2 separate regions of the Homo sapiens genome follow, and region 1 is linked to region 2. The links are contacts of gene promoters, found by promoter capture Hi-C in blood cells and fetal thymus (Javierre and others, 2016). All regions are on one chromosome and are shown on one strand. Each heading gives the region's core, a stretch centred on a gene start or on the middle of the fragment in contact. The rest is flanking DNA. Distances are from core to core; before and after follow the strand shown. Region 1 overlaps TMEM72-AS1 (TMEM72 antisense RNA 1). Region 2 holds the start of ZNF32 (zinc finger protein 32).

Region 1 (2,935 bases), core at 339-2,838, 1.2 Mb before region 2:
TCTAATGTGGGTAAAATACTATCAAACAGCATCACATGCTACAGGGAAATCTTTCATGAAAGAGTCAATGGATGTAGTAAACCTCATTGTTGTCTTATTTTATGAAATTGCCATGGCCACCCCAACCTTCAGCAACCACTGCCCTGATTAATCAACAGCCGTCAACATGTCAACATCAAGCCTAGACCCTCCACCAGAAAAAGATTACAAGTCTCCGAAGGCTCGGATAATCATTAGTATTTCTCAGCAATGAAGTATTTTTGAATTAGGGTATGTGCACTGCTTTTTTAGACATAATGCTATTGTACACTTCATAGACTATAGTATACTATAAACATAACTGGTATTCAGTGGGAAACAAAAAACATGTGACACACTTGATTGTGATATTTGCAGTATTTGCAGACAGTAGTTTGTCACTGAACCCGCAATGTCTCCAAGGTATGCTTGTATGTAACTAGAGGTTTTTTCAGTGGGATAGACTCAATAAGCCAATTGCATATCCATAATCAATTAAATATTTTCTTTTGTTTGACTTCCCTGTTTGTATTATAGAAATCTCCTTCTTGCATTCCTTTGATGGAACTCACAAACCACTTCCTCTTTGGAGCTGCCTAATTCATGAATCCCTGTTTGCTCAAACTCTTTAAAAATTTTACTGTGCTTTGGTTTACCTTTTTAACCCTGCAATGTGTATCAAAGGGTGCTTAGCACATAGTGAATGGAGATATTAGTAGTTCTTCTCTGATGCTTTCCAAGTTCGGCGAAATCTTGAGGCTCTCCACTCACATTTGCAAATGCTAAACGCTCCTGTGGTGGAGAGAGCAGGGGGGCTGGTGTGTGGACACCCTCTGAGGTGTTCTCACTGGCCACTGGCTCCTTTTGTTGTCTCCCTTTCAATTCAGTACCAGAACATCCCTTCACCGGCAACTTTCGAGTGGGCCTGCTGAAACAATCAAGGCAGTGCCTCCACTTAACTTTGAGAAGGTAGTGTGTGAGAGATTTAGAATAAGCAGCTCTGGAACTACTCCCAGTTTACTCTTATAATTACATACACAAAAAAATCAAAACCTCAGTTTATTTGTCCAAAAATGGGGATAGTATTCTTGTCCTACATGATGAGTGTACTAATCCTTCCAGCCAGCATTCACCTGGGGCTCTGTGCTCCAGGCAGGGTGAGGGTTAGGACTGCATGTAGGTGCTGCCTTCACACCCGGAGCAGGCTGGAGCGAGTGGTGTGAAGCCTCCCAACCCCACGGCTGGGGGCAAAGGCTGTGCTAAGGCACCCGGACATGGAGCTGGCCTGGCCTGAGGACTCAGAGTGGAAAGACAGGAAAGACACTGGCTGCGCTGAAGCGCTGGGACCCGGGAAGGGGCGTCTAGGCAAGAGCGCCTGTGAACAGGATTTGTAAGCTGCTCTTGGTGACTTTTGGACAGACACTCTTACTTGCTTTACTGCTCCCCTTTGTCTTCTGCCCCCTTTCCCTAAAAGTATTTCCAAATGTGTGATGCCCACCAGGTTCCTGGGCAGTGCAGTGGGATGTCTGCTTGGTTTCTGCTGATCCTCACAGAGCCTGGTGACTTCTTCCTCCCAGGTCTGTGGATCAACACTGTCTCCCTGGCCTCTACCCAGCGCGCAGGACCCCTTAGCAGAGCAGGAGAACTCAGGTTGGAACTCATTATTGCATGGTGCTTGTCTTGCCATCTGTCCCCATAATGCCTTAAGTGACAATGACATAGGCATCTGACAATGTATGTGGCCATCACTTTTTATCATTTTAAGATATATGGGCCTTCTTTTTCCAACTCTTTTCCCCCGCCAGACAGCCAGGAGCCCAGAGAAGGGTTGTGTTGTGTCCTTTACTGAGCCCCACAGGCCTGTGTGAGCCAGGGGCTTGGCATGCCTGGGAATAAGAGCGCCAGCCTTTGGCCTTCCCGCAGCCTCTCCTTGGGGCCTTTAGGGTCCCCACAGGCCCTCCCCTCCCCTCTGCATTTTCCAGGATCCAGCCAGCTGCCGGCACACTTTCGTCCTCCTCCGCACACGAGGATCCCCAGGCCCAGCGGTGTTAGCCCAGAGAGGAGCGGCGTTTGGGATGTGATCCACAGCTGATCCCTCGTGGCCCCTCCTCTCCCGAATCCTGAAACATGAGGAGGCCCTTCAGCTGCTGGCTCGGAGTCCGACTATGGGAACTTTCTCCGGTCTACGGGGGCAGCAAGGGTCTCGCCTCAGGGACTTGGTTTATTTATCTAGCTGGACTCCATCCCTTAATATCCTACTTACAGAGGAAGAGGCTTTAGCAGCTAAATGCAGCCCCATCCCCTCCTGTGGAGACTGTGAGCAGAAAAAGAACAGATATTTACAGAGGCCCGAGCCCCCCTTGTTGTTTTCTGCAAGGCTGTCGAGCTGGTGGAGCTTCAGGATCCTGGTCAGGAACCCCGAACCCAGCGCTGGAGGCCCTGAAGATCAGGGCACCCGACCCTCTTCCCAGCCGCCAAAGGCCTGTGTTGGTCTGATTGTGGATTCCAAGCTCTAATTTCCATCCATCCTCCCAATCCGAATTCCCTTTGCAGACATAAACACCATCAGCAATGTAGAGAATGTGTTTCCTCATCTTTGAATATTAACACTCATCTGTTTAATTGAGCTACTTTTTACATACATGTAAGATGTGCTGCAATTGCAAAAGAAACATGTGCTTCGTGTTCTATAAGCCATATCTTCCGCAAGACCTGCCATCAAATGATTGCTCAAACATTTGTTGAATGGGATGAGCAATGGAGGTTCAGACAGGTGCCCTGACCTACCCAGGCTGGAGGGTAGGGAGCTAGAAATTCATACAACCATGCCTTGTTCTACTTGTTTTGTGAAAGAATCATGTGACCAGTGACAAAGAGGCTGGGCAGCTGGGTCAGGCAGCAGGGACAGCGACTGAGC
Region 2 (3,227 bases), core at 642-3,141:
AGGTTCTCTTGGCATGGGAGTTAGGTAAACATTCAACTCCCCGACCCCACCAATGTCTAGCCCTTGTCATAACACCATTTATTGAATTATCTGTCCTTCCCCTAATATTTTGAAATGCCTGCAAAGTGAGGAAATTGTTCTTTGGTAATTTTTCAAATCTACACTGCGGATGATTTCCCTTTCACCCTCACCCCACACCCTCCCTTTTGTTGAGTATTTGCCTTAAGATGCAGGTGGTGGGTGAGGATGTGCCCCATTTTGCAGCTGGGCAGTCTGTCTATGGAGGCTGGGGTCACATCAACCCCAATCCTAACAGCTTTCTCCCCTGCTTTGGGCCCTTCAATGTGTCCACTTTCCTGAGACGCCTTAAGGGAATTTATGCAGATCTATAAAAGTGACGATGGTCCCCCCTCACAGCCACCTTTTCCCACCAATGCTTTGTCATGTACCTTCACGGCAGGATCTGAAACTTGTCCTAGTGTCCACAGCCGGTCTTGACCTTAACAGAACCTATGTACCCTTGTGTGAAGCAGAGGCCGCAGCCTTAGGACTCTGAGCCTTGGCCTTTGCTGTGTGCCGCCCTCCACCCCTTTCTCAGACTTGGGAGGAGTGAGGAGAGGAGCCACCTGGGGCAGTTCAGGAATGGGGAGCTTCAGGACAGTTTGCACCACACACTCTGGGACTTAGCTGTGCAACACCCCGACCCCCATGTGAGGAAGGTGGTGTTTGTTTGCTCCACCAGACTGTCAGCTCCTCCCTAGGAGCACGGAGTGTGTCTTGCTCACATTCGTATCCCCAGTGTCAGCACTTAAAATGGATTCAACGGATAAATGTTGAATGAAATTCAGAAATGATGTGCAATAGTAAAAGCTAACATTTAGGAATCAACTTATTACTTACAGACACCTTTGCATATTGAGTGAAATTAAGTTGTTTGATTTAACAAATCTGTGGCTTTGGGGTAGAGAACAAGAACATAGCAAGAGGAAGCATTCTTTATTAGTCCTTCACGAAAGAGGATGGACAGACACATCTACGGAGAGGGGCTCCAGAGGCAGGGACCCAGAGATACACCCGGCCAGGCAGAACAGCTCCAGGATGTGGCCCCGATCCTGGAAAAGTGCGTTTAAAAGAGGCTTAAGGCATATCAGACAGCCTGGCCAACATGGTAAAACCTTCATCTCTACTAAAAATACAAAAAAATTAGCCAGGCATGGTGGCACAGACCTGTAGTCCCAGCTACTTGGGAGGCTGGGGCAGGAGAATCACTTGAGCCCAGAAGGCGGAGGTTGCAGTGAGGCGACACCGTGCCACTGCACTCAAGCCTGGGAGACAGAGTGAAGGAAAAAAAAAAACAGGCATTATTAGAGAGGCTTTATCTCCTACGTGTTCAAAAGCAACCATGCTCCTCCCAGTATCTCAGGACGACTGGACTGCCTGTGTTCCTGTTGCTCTTCACAGAAGCTCCATGAAAGCGGGCTTCGCTTTTGTTCATGCAGCCAGAGGCTCAACACATGACCTCGAAGCCGCCAAGGCTTTATCAAACGGATTTCTCCCAAAAACTTCGTTTCCTTCCGCGACGCCCTGCAAGAACCCTGTATTCCTGAGTCCCTGGCTCAGCGTCTGCTACCCCGATGCTGTCAATCAGATCCTGCTAATCTGAGCGGCCGTGGCTCCGTCCCGGCTCCGCGTCCGCTGACAGGTCACCGCTGTGAGTCTCCGGATTACCAGTCCAAACGGGACGGCTTGAGGTCCCCGCGCCCTAGGGACCTGCGGGGCCCGAGCGCAGGGCGCGCCAGAGAACTACATTTCCCACAGAGCTCTTGGGAAGCCGGGGCCGCCGAGACCCACGGCCCGGCGGGCGGGCTCGCGGGGAGACTCCTGGGAGTTGTAGTCCATTCCGCCGGCGCCGGCGCTGGCGCTGCTGCGGGCTCGGCGCCGGCCTTTGTCTGCGGGCACGCGCCGCTGCGGTGAGTGAGGCCGCTGGCCGGGTCAGAGCGCCGGGGCAAGGCGGGGCTGCGCCATCAGACCGCTGTCCCGGGCCCTCCGTGTGGCCGCCTTATGCCAGCGGCCGCCAAGGAAATGAGCAGGCCTGGCCGGCCCGGGCCCCGAGGGAGGCCAGCCGCGAGCGGAGAGGTCGGCGGTCCGCAGAGCAGGGTCCCGTGGACCGGAGAGCGGGATGCCGAGGTTCAGGACGCAGGGCGGGCCCGGTGCCCGGGGCCCGGGGCCTGAGGCGGGAGGGCAGCGTCTGCGGAGAGGAGCAGGGCCCATGGCGTCGGGGCGTGGGAGGGGGAGGCCGCGGCAGGCTCACCCGGCCTCCGTGCGGGCTTCAGCGAGTGCGGGAAGCCGGTGCCGGCCTTCCGGGGTGGGAGGAGAGGCAGCCCCTGCGGGGGAGAGTAGGAAGCCAGGCAGCGTGTGGGAAACCACGCTACCCACAAGCTCCTAAACCTGAAACTGGCCCCAGGACATTTTCCAGACCGCCAAGTGTACCCCTCTTCTCATCCGCCCTCCAGAGGACGCCGGATTTTAGATCTTAAGTCTGGTGGTCTCGTCTGATACTCCTCTTGTTTGGTTCTTTCCTTCTCATTGTCCTACCTGATAGGACAGTGTTAGTAACCTGTTTAATAAGTGGGGAAGCAGAGTCAGGGCTGCTGGGTTACTCGCCCAAGATCATATCCTGGGGGAGCCACGGCAAGAAGCCAAGACTCACGGACTACTTCTAAGCTTTTTCCAAAGGATATAGTAGCCTTTCTAATAGGAAAATCAATGTTTTTAATTATAAAGCCACTTTTACAAAATCTTGGGGAAACTGCTTCCTCAGACCTGTGATCTAGGGAGAAAAATATGACAATTTCTCCCTTACTAATCACGGAGGTCCCTGATAGGCGGCGGAGTTGTAACTTGAAGACCTCACAGCAGGTGGAGAGGCAGAGCTGTGAATTCTACTCTAATTTCTGGAATCCCCGGCGACAGAGTCCAACCCCAGGCAGCAGGCGCCATGTACCCCAGGGACTTTTAATGTGTGTGCAGCTGTTGAGCAAGAATACCTTGAACTTCCAAATGATGTGCTGGCATGCTGGTAGGGAATTCCTTTGCAGCTTGTGTTCCAAGTTGGAAGTGAGTCCTCCAAATAAAAATTTAAATGATTCTCCTGGTCATCACAGCATGTAGCAGAATGTGCAGTTGTCAAGAAGAACCAGGTGCTTAGGTTGACAAAACAAAGAATG

Evidence for each region. The method cuts DNA at HindIII sites, captures the fragments that hold promoters and counts their contacts. A CHiCAGO score of 5 or more calls a contact.
Region 1: a contact is called between a fragment that was not itself captured here and the fragment with the promoter of ZNF32 in region 2, in 1 of 17 cell types (neutrophils). The highest score is 5.4, in neutrophils.

What each region holds. Positions count from the first base shown.
Region 1 is chr10:44,827,905-44,830,839 of GRCh38, reverse strand. All of the region lies in intron 4 of TMEM72-AS1 (TMEM72 antisense RNA 1), which reads left to right. Among named protein-coding and RNA genes, the nearest start is that of TMEM72, 82 kb to the left of the region's middle. RefSeq lists an enhancer at 790-1,653. The HindIII fragment of the contact is 4,928 bases long and covers 1-2,935 here.
Region 2 is chr10:43,647,545-43,650,771 of GRCh38, reverse strand. It overlaps ZNF32 (zinc finger protein 32), which reads left to right and starts at 1,891. Exons shown (of 3, transcript NM_006973.3): 1 at 1,891-1,970. The region is part of intron 1 of ZNF32-AS3 (ZNF32 antisense RNA 3); the gene reads right to left. It overlaps ZNF32-AS2 (ZNF32 antisense RNA 2), which reads right to left. Exons shown (of 3, transcript NR_047558.1): 3 at 2,753-3,203. RefSeq lists a silencer at 1,866-2,385. The HindIII fragment of the contact is 4,172 bases long and covers 1-2,726 here.